Linked DNA regions of Homo sapiens: region 1 is linked to region 2. Evidence: promoter capture Hi-C in 16 types of primary human blood cells and fetal thymus (Javierre and others, 2016). All regions are on one chromosome and are shown on one strand. Each heading gives the region's core, a stretch centred on a gene start or on the middle of the fragment in contact. The rest is flanking DNA. Distances are from core to core; before and after follow the strand shown.

Evidence for each region. Contacts are between HindIII fragments. The CHiCAGO score rates a contact against its expected background, and 5 or more counts as called.
Region 1: a contact is called between a fragment that was not itself captured here and the fragment with the promoter of RPL11 in region 2, in 1 of 17 cell types (naive B cells). The highest score is 5.1, in naive B cells.

The regions. Positions count from the first base shown.
Region 1 is chr1:23,908,813-23,913,623 of GRCh38, forward strand. CNR2 (cannabinoid receptor 2) reads right to left here and starts at 4,550. Exons shown (of 2, transcript NM_001841.3): 1 at 4,434-4,550. RefSeq lists a silencer at 1,399-1,448 and enhancers at 3,419-3,588, 4,362-4,811. The HindIII fragment of the contact is 3,555 bases long and covers 1,465-4,811 here.
Region 2 is chr1:23,688,362-23,693,104 of GRCh38, forward strand. It overlaps RPL11 (ribosomal protein L11), which reads left to right and starts at 3,445. Exons shown (of 6, transcript NM_000975.5): 1 at 3,445-3,468; 2 at 4,248-4,398. The coding sequence starts at 3,463. RefSeq lists an enhancer at 3,407-3,726. The HindIII fragment of the contact is 4,092 bases long and covers 1,572-4,743 here.

The DNA.
Region 1 (4,811 bases), core at 1,992-4,491, 220 kb after region 2:
CGAACTCAATGAATTTGGGCTGAGGCAACACTGTGAACGCAGCTGTGGCTCTCAAAGAGGAACTTAGGGGTTGCCTCAACCTCTAGGGAGGCAAGGGAGCCTCTGAGAGACAGGTGGGGTGGTGGGGGTGAGGGAGTGGGAAAAGCTGCCTTTGACTCACTGTATGAGCAGGAGATCAGAGACCTCCTCTCTGGGCAGTGGAAGCAGGTGGGGGAGGGGAGGAGAAGCCGTGAAGCTCACCGGACACCGAACCACGAAGTCCCCTCTGCTCATGGGCTCACCCACATCCTCCCCGACTGGATGGGGCCCCAGCAGCCTTCACTCCCTCGCCTGCTGGGGAATCCTTCCCTCCCTGCTTGGCCCTAACTCCACTATGCAGTTCCTCCCCCATTAATCTGGCCTTGTCTGTCATTTTCTCTCCTTGGCATTTGAGGTCTTTGCTGCATGGCGTGAGGACTGAGTACATCCTTTCTCTCCCCAGGAGATGGAGGGAAAAGAGAACAGTTTTACACTGTTCTGGGTTCTGCTGGAAGAAGGCTGAGACCTGATCTTACTCTTCTGGTGGTCCCTGCAGCATAGCTGGGGACCGAGAGCCTTGGCTGTGCGTGGGTTCCCACTCTGCCCTCTCCCGAGACTTCAGTGTCCTCATTTATAGCTTGGGGAGAGAAAGAGAATTGCCTTTACAGGACCGAGGTGAGGATTACATAAGATAATGCCTAAGCACAGTCAGGGAAGGTCTGTCAGAGATCATCATGGAAACAGGAAGTCACCTGGGCCAAGGGCTAGAGCCTCAGGGTCTTGGCACAGAGTAGACACCTCACAAGACTGGATTGGACTGCTCAGTTTGGGGTGGGAGGAGAGAAGCCGGCCATATTCATATGATATCCCTCCAATTTCCTCCCCAGCGCAGGTTCTCGGGTTGTCCATGTGATGGCATCTGAAACGCAGCCTGGCGAGCGACACAGTAAAGACAACCCTGATCATGAGTCCCCGAGCCTGCCCTGCATCTCCATACCTAGAGGCATTTCCACTCCCGTTCTCCTATTTTGATTCCCACCACAATATGGCTTGGTTCTGGATCCAGATTGACCTGGACTTGAGTCTCAGCTTTGCCATTACCACCAGTTATGGGACTGTGGACAAGTCTCTCTCCTTCTTTTTTTTTTTTTTGAAACAGTATCTTGCTCAGTTACCCAGGCAATAATAGCTCACTGCAGCCTCAATCTCCCAGGCTTAAACAATCCTTCCACCTCAGCCCCCTGAGTAGCTGGGACCACAGGCATGTGCCACCATGCCTGGCTAATTTTTAATTTTTTTTTTTTTTTTTTTGTAGAGATAGGGTCTCACTATGTTTCCTAGACTGGTCTTGAAGTGCTGAGCTCAAGCTATCCTCCTGCCTGGGCCTCCCAAAGTGCCAAGCTTACAGGTATGAGCCACCATGCCCGGCCCCTTGGATAAGTCTTAAGCTTGTGTGAGCTTCAGTTTCTCACCTTGCAAATGTGGTTAGTGATAGCAGCCCCCTCCTAGGCTGTGGTGAGGACTTAATGAGGAACGGTCACAGAGCTCAAATGTGTAGTAAATGCTTCATCAATCTTCGCTTAAGAAAAAAACAAGAGCGGATCACCTGAGATCGGGAGCTCGAGACCAGCCTGGCCAACATGCAGAAACCCCATCCCTACTAAAAATACAAAATTAGCCGGGCGTGGTGGTGCATGCCTGTCATCCCAGCTACTTGGGAGGCTGAGGCAGGAGAATCGCTTGAACCCAGGAGGCAGAGGTTGCAATGAGCTGAGATTACGCCATTATACTCCAGCCTGGGCAACAAGAGCAAAACGCTGTCTCAAAAAAAAAAAAAAAAAAAAAAAAAGAAAGAAAAGAAAAGAAAACAAAACAAAAAAACAAAAAACAAAAAACAAGAGCCCCTTTGAGGCAGGTTGGGAATGCTATGATAGCGTCATTTTTAGAGTTGAAGAAACTGAGGTTCAGAAAGGTGATGTAACTTGCCCCAGGTTGCCTGAGTAATTGATGAGGGAGACTTGGGTTTCCATGTGATTCCATGTGATTGATAGCACAAGCTCTGAACCCACAGCGCAGGACTCTCTGCTCACACTGGCTCCGCTATTCCTTGGCTGTGTGACACTGAGCAAGTCAACACTGCTGCTGAGTCTTGGTTTTTCTCATCTGTAAGATAGGGCTGCCTGTCTCTTTTCAGAGTGCCCTTTGTGTCTCGTGGCTCGGGGACTTTTTTCAGGGGTGAGAGTAGGAAGCAGAAGCTATTTGAAGACAACCCTTCTTCCTGTCCTTTCCTGAGAACCTGAGCGCAGTGAGAAGGTTAGGTCACGTGGGTGGGGGGTGGGGAGAGAAGAGTGTCCATCTGCCATCCACAGCCAAGGGGAGAGGAGAGATTGTCCTTGGCTGGGAGGGGACCGAGGTCTTGGGCACCTAGAATTTGCTTTCTGGGAAGATGGCAGGACCTCTGGGGGAAGTCACTGGGTGATATATCCTGGATGTCAAAATGAGACACAGTGGTTTCAGGTCTTACAAAGAATCTGGACTCCAGGCATGCCAGGGAAGTGGGCAAGGCTGGACTTCAGACAATCAAGTCCATTTGGGCAATGGGCATCCATCGTAGGAGGACCCAGGAGCCTCCCTCACGCTTATGTTCTGTGTGTCCTCTGGGTCAATGTGCATGGGTGGGGATGGGAGTGAGGGAAGCTCAGTGCACTTGGAGATTAAATTTCCTCCTAGCCCAGTAGGATGAGGCTCAGGGTCCTATTGAATGTGACTTCAACTGAATAAAGAAAAGATCAATTTATGCACACCCGAGGGTGTGCAGTAAGAGTGACTGGTACTGTAAAATGAGGTGGGAAGAGAGGGGGCTGGCGCTGGAGGGCTCTGCTTGGCTGAGCCAGGCTGCCATTTTCCCGTCTTCACTGCCTTATCCTGGCCTTAGCCGGCCAAAGGGTAAAGGATATGCTTCACCTGCCCAGCGCAGGTTAGGGGGTCACTCTGGTAAGCCACAAGGTGGTTACAGAGCTGGGGCCAGGATTATTGGGACTCCACCTCCTGAGCTCTCCCTGAACTTCTCCCCAGCCTCCATCCTGGTTTTCATGCTGCCAACGTGTCTACTTGCCACTCATTCCAGGGAAAAGCAGCCAGGCCTCATTTTATCCTCATCTCAGATCCACAGCAAGAGCAGATGGGGTGAAGATCAAACTCTCCACCACAGCCATTCCCGAGCCCTGTGCTGCTGCCCGCCCTGTGCCCGCATCAGACAGTTGACTCGCAACAAGCCTGTGAGTGACCTTCTCAGGCCCATGTTTCTCAGAAGAGGAAGCTGAGCAGGAAAGAAATGGAGTGATTTGCATTAGGCCATCGAGCTACCAGTGGCAGAGCTGGGATTCAGACCTGGACGCTGACCCCAGGGCACACTGGAAAATACTGCTCTTCCCTCCGCTGAGTGGAACTTACACCAAAGCAGACCCCTGGCCTCCTGAGTCCAGTGTGCCCCTAACACTACCTTGTGGTCTCCCCATCTATAAAATGAGAGCGCAGGACTCACCTGGTCATCTCAAAGGCCTCTGCCAGCCCCTGTCATTTCCTGGCCCCCATCTACTGTTGCAGTCCACACCTCGTAAGGCAGGATAGCCTGGTGGCTGAAGGGTGGGCCGCGAAGCCGGAGTGCCTAGGCTCAAGCCAATGCTCTCATTCAATGCCCGCATGATTTCAGGTGGGTCACCTAGCCCCCACCTATCAAGTGGACAACAGTGATAGCTCCTACTGCATACGGCTGTTGTGAGGATTAAATAAATCCAACCACTAAAGGCTCTTAGGGCAGCGCCTGGCACACAGTAAGGCCATCTCTGTGTGTGTGATTCTTGTCTCTGTAATGAAATGAAAGCCAAAGTCCTGATTCTTGGTCCTAGGAGGGGGATGCCAGCCCTGAACTTTCCTGCGACTGGTCCTCCACAACCCCAGGTGTCCTGAAATGACATCTATCCCCTGCCCCAGACAGGCCCACCTGGCTTCTTGTGTCCCTGGAGGGAAGGGATAAGGTAAGAATACAGGTTTTGGCCAGGTGCAGTGGCTCATGCCTGTAATCCCAGCACTTTGGGAGGCCAAGGTGGGCAGATCACCTGAAGTCGGGAGTTCGAGACCAGCCTGGCCAACATGGTGAAACCCTGTCTCTACTAAAAATACAAAAATTAGCCAGACGCAGTAGTGCACACCTGTAATCCCAACTACACGGGAGGCTGAGGCAGGAGAATCGCTTGAACCTGTGAGGCTGCACTGAGCCGAGATTGTGCCACTGTACTTTAGCCTGGTCAACAGAGCAAAACTCCGTCTCAAAAACAAACAAACAAACAAAAAAGAATACAGGTGTTGGGGAATGAGGAAGAAGCCTAAAATAAACAACAAAAAAAGCTACTCACGGTTGTGTTGTGGGTGGCTGGGCACTGGGAGCTGCCGGGGGCTGAGGAGTCCCAGTTGTTTTCTGTCCTCTCCCAGGACCTGGCCGTGGGTGCCACTCAGAGCACCTGTTGAGTGCCACCCCAAGCCAGCTTTCTCTTGCTTTTGTACTTTCTCACAGATGAGTGAGTGTGAGGAGGTCTGGCCTTCCGTGCCTGTTACCACTTCCCCTCCAGGTCCCTGGTGCCACAATGCTCTTGCCCCTGCGGTTGAGTTATCTCTTACAACGAACTCTGGCCAGGGTGGGGCATGGGCCTAGACCCTGGAGTCAAGGGACTTGGGTTCTAATACAGCCTCGTTAAAATGTTGATTCACTTAACTTCCCCAAAGGCAAGTTTCTT
Region 2 (4,743 bases), core at 2,195-4,694:
GCTTTTTTGGTGGAGACGGGGTTTCGCTGTGTTGGCCGGGCTGGTCTCCAGCTCCTGGCCGCGAGTGATCCGCCGGCCTCGGCCTCCCGGGGTGCCGGGATTGCAGACGGAGTCTGGTTCACTCGGTGCTCGGTGGTGCCCAGGCTGGAGTGCAGTGGCGTGATCTCGGCTCGCTACAGCCTCCATCTCCCAGCCGCCTGCCTTGGCCTCCCAGAGTGCCGAGATTGCAGCCTCTGCCCGGCCGCCACCCCGTCTGGGAGGTGGGGAGTGTCTCTGCCTGGCCGCCCATCGTCTGGGACGTGGGGAGCCCCTCTGCCTGGCTGCCCAGTCTGGAGAGTGAGGAGCGTCTCTGCCCGGCCGCCATCCCATCTGGGAAGTGAGGAGCGCCTCTTCCCGGCCGCCATCCCACCTGGGAGGTGAGGAGCGTCTCTGCCCGGCCGCCCATCGTCTGAGATGTGGGGAGCGCCTCTGCCCCGCCGCCCCGTCTGGGATGTGAGGAGCGCCTCTGCCCGGCCGCGACCCCGTCTGGGAGGTGAGGAGCGTCTCTGCCCAGCCGCCCCGTCTGAGAAGTGAGGAGACCCTCCGCCCAGCATCCGCCCCGTCTGCGAAGTGAGGAGCCCCTCCGCCCGGCAGCCGCCCCGTCTGAGAAGTGAGGAGCCCCTCTGCCCGGCAGCCACCCCGTCTGGGAAGTGAGGAGCGTCTCCGCCCGGCAGCCGCCCCGTCCGGGAGGGAGGTGGGGGGGTCAGCCCCCCGCCCAGCCAGCCGCCCCGTCCGGGAGGGAGGTGGGGGGGTCAGCCCCCCGTCCGGGAGGTGAGGGGCGCCTCTGCCCGGCCGCCCCTACTGGGAAGTGAGGAGCCCCTCTGCCCGGCCACCACCCCGTCTGGGAGGTGTACCCAACAGCTCATTGAGAACGGGCCGGGATGACAATGGCGGTTTTGTGGAATAGAAAGGGGGGAAAGGTGGGGAGAAGATTGAGAAATCGGATGGTTGCCGTGTCTGCGTAGAAAGACGTAGACATGGGAGACTTTTCATTTTGTTCTGTACTAAGATAAATTCTTCTGCCTTGGGATCCTGTTGATCGGTGACCTTACCCCCAACCCTGTGCTCTCTGAAACATGTGCTGTGTCCACTCAGGGTTAAATGGATTAAGGGCGGTGCAAGACGTGCTTTGCTAAACAGATGCTTGAAGGCAGCATGCTCGTTAAGAATCATCACCACTCCCTAATCTCAAGTACCCAGGGACACAAACACTGCGGAAGGCCGCAGGGTCCTCTGCCTAGGAAAACCAGAGACCTTTGTTCACTTGTTTATCTGCCGACCTTCCCTCCACTATTGTCCTATGACCCTGCCAAATCCCCCTCTGCGAGAAACATCCAAGAATGATCAATAAAAATTAAAAAAAAAAATACATTGTACAGTAATCTTTTAATCAAAACACTGCATCATAGGTGGAGACTGAAAGCCTGCCACTTGTGGTCGCTGTTTTTTGTTTGTTCGTTTGTTTGTTTTGAGACAGGGTCTTGCTCTATCACCCAGGCTGGAGTGCAGTGGTGTGATCTTGGCTCACTGCAAGCTTCTTCTCCTCGGTTCAAGCGATTCTCCTGCCTCAGCCTTCCGAGTAGCTCGGATTACAGGCATGCACCACCAGGCCCGGTTAATTTTTGTATTTTTAGTAGAGACGGGGTTTCACCCCGTTGGCCAGGCTGGTCTCGAACTCCTGACCTTAAGTGATCCACCCGCCTTAGCCTCCCAAAGCGCTGGGATTACAAGTGTGAGCCACAGCACCTGGCCTGGTTGGCGGGGCCGGGGTCGGGTGTGGTGGTGGGGGGAGGGGGGGTGGGTCGCTGTTGTTTCACAGCTGATCCAGGTTTTCTGGTGATGCTCCTCTGCTGCTTAGTTGCCCTGAACACATTACTTTTTCACTGTATTAATGACATAGCATATATTTTGCTGTTAAGAACTTATTTTTTATTTTTGAGACGGAGTCTCGCTCTGTCACCCAGGCTGGAGTGCAGTGGCGCGACCTCGGCTCACTGAAAGCTCCGCCTCCCAGGTTCACGCCATTCTCCTGCCTCAGCCTCCAGAGTAGCTGGGACTACAGGCGCCCGCCACCACGCCCGGCTAATTTTTTTTTTTTTTTTTTTTTGTATTTTTAGTAGAGACGGAGTTTCACCGTGTTAGCCAGGATGGTCTCGATTTCCTGACCTCGCGATCCGCCCGTCTCGGTCTCCCAAAGTGCTGGGATTACAGGCGTGAGCCACCGCGCCCGGCCGCTGTTAAGTACTTATATGTGAATAAGCGTAAGAAAGTATTGCTTATCAATAGCATATACATTTACAGTCTGGAAAAATGGTTAGGCCAACCAACCAGAGATTGTCCACAAGGGTGGCTGAGATAGTGACACCTTTGCTTTCTGATGGTTCAATGTACACAAACTTTGTTTCATGCACAAACTTACTTAAAATATTGTATAAAATTACCTTCAGACTATGTGTATAAGGTGTATATGGAACATAAATTAATTTCATATTCAGACTTGGGTTCCATCCCCAAGATATCTCATTATGTTTATGCGAATATTCCATAATCCGGAAAAATCCCAAATCTAAAAACCGTCTGGTCCCAGGCTTTTCAGGTTAGGAATACGCACCCTGTAGTAACTTGCCCAAGGTCACATAGCTACTAGCTGGTCGAGACAGGACCACATCTGCCTGTCTTCAAGCTCGGGACTCTTAAACCACCACTCCTTTCCGTTTGTATAAATTCTATTTGTGCCCGGAGTGGTGGCTCACGCCTGTAATCCCAGCACTTTGGGAGGCCAAGGCGGGTGGATCATTTGAGGTCAGGAGTTCCATACCAGCCCGACCAACATGGTGAAACCCCATCTCTACTAAAAATACAAACAAATTAGACCGGTATGGTGGTGCGTGCCTGTAATCCCAGCTACTTGGGAGGCTGAGGCAGGAGAATCGCTTGAACCCGGGAGGCGGAGGTTGCAGTGAGCCGATATCGCGCCACTGCACTTCAACCTGGGTGACACAGCGAGGCTCCGTCTCAAAAAATAAATAAATAAATAAATTATATTTGTTTACGTTGTTACAGAATAAATTTGCGTCATAATTTGCATGATTGATTTAATGTAGTTTTGGCGTTCTCATCACACAAGGACCACCAGCTCGTGACACTGGGAGGAGAGAACGTCCTCAAGGTCCGGAAACTCAAGGACGTGCTGATTCGGGAGCTTTCAAAAACTATTTTTGGAAAACCCAGATCCCGGTCTTCAGCCAGCGTCGCCTGCAGTGGCTAGCACTACCCACAAGGGAGAAGCCGACGCTGCAGGGCTTTGCCAAATGCGCCTCTCTTCCTCGTCTTCATCTCTGTGGTTAGCCTGGGAAAAGAGCCCGCCTCCTGGCCCATAAGGCCCTCGGCCGGAAGCTCCGCTTTCTCTTCCTGCTCTCCATCATGGCGGTGAGTAGCTGGGACCTGGATTTGCTTTCCTTTATCCGTCGCCATCCATGGCAGGCCGAGCCTGCGGGGGCTACTTCGCCCGCAGCCCGAGGAATATGGAGCCCGCAATGCCTGCTGGCCCAAAACTAGCAGAGCCGTTCGAGCCAAGGACGCAGGGTTGAATTCTGTCACTTTCCCTGCCATCGTTTTAGGAGCGGCTCCGGGCACTTGCCCGGAGTGCTCAGAAGCACGGTCAGGAGGCTGCAGCGGGGGCAGATGGGGTGAATGGAGGGTTCTGAGGCAGGGGGGTCCGGGCCTTTTCCTGGTCCCGGGGACTTGAGACTTGCTCGGTGCTAGGAAACCTTAGTCGGTTGCTCCGCTTAGGGAAGGTGCCAGCCTTTAGACAGCTTCCGAATAGGATGCTGGACGTCGCATAACCACGTGTTTCCTGTTAACTGAGCAATTAAGTTCTGTTTCTTCGCTCACTCCCCTTAGTTGGCCTTACAATGGGGGCGCTCTTTGTTACCCTGAGCCTCTTAGGGTTCGATCTCAGTGTCCGTATCTTTTAACACTCAATAACTGTCCTGAGTTTTCTCTTCACCCGTTCCGTTCGTGGAGGAAGGATAGGTTCCGAGCTGTCTTCTTCCCTTGATGTCCCCTAAACATTATACCTTTTAAACATTCAGGGTCTTCGTTACGATTTGGGATGAGCAGAAATAAAAATGCTGTGCAGATAGAAAGTAGTAAAACTCAGGGCCCTCAGCTGTGAGTGTATTGACTGCTGCTCTTCCCTGTTGCAGCAGGATCAAGGTGAAAAGGAGAACCCCATGCGGGAACTTCGCATCCGCAAACTCTGTCTCAACATCTGTGTTGGGGAGAGTGGAGACAGACTGACGCGAGCAGCCAAGGTGTTGGAGCAGCTCACAGGGCAGACCCCTGTGTTTTCCAAAGGTGAGTAGTCACAAGGACATACAGGGTTTGCCTGCTTGGGTCGCTTGGTTGTTTCTTGATTTACCTGCTGTCGAGTCTGTTTAGAAAGTGACAGTCGGCATCACTTAAAGCATTAAATTCATGAGCCGGCCAAGAGGTGTCTTTTTTTTTTTTTTTTATTCAAGATGGCGTGTGGGATTGGAACACTAGATTTTATTTGAGCAGATCTTAAGCTAAGACTAGCCCAAGTAAAGATTTTCCTAAGTAACTAGGATATGAGATAGAGTGGAAATGTCAGGAACGAAGTAAAGATCATTAGATCTGATTAGCAGTTAGGGTTATATAGGCTGCATTAAGAACAGGGCT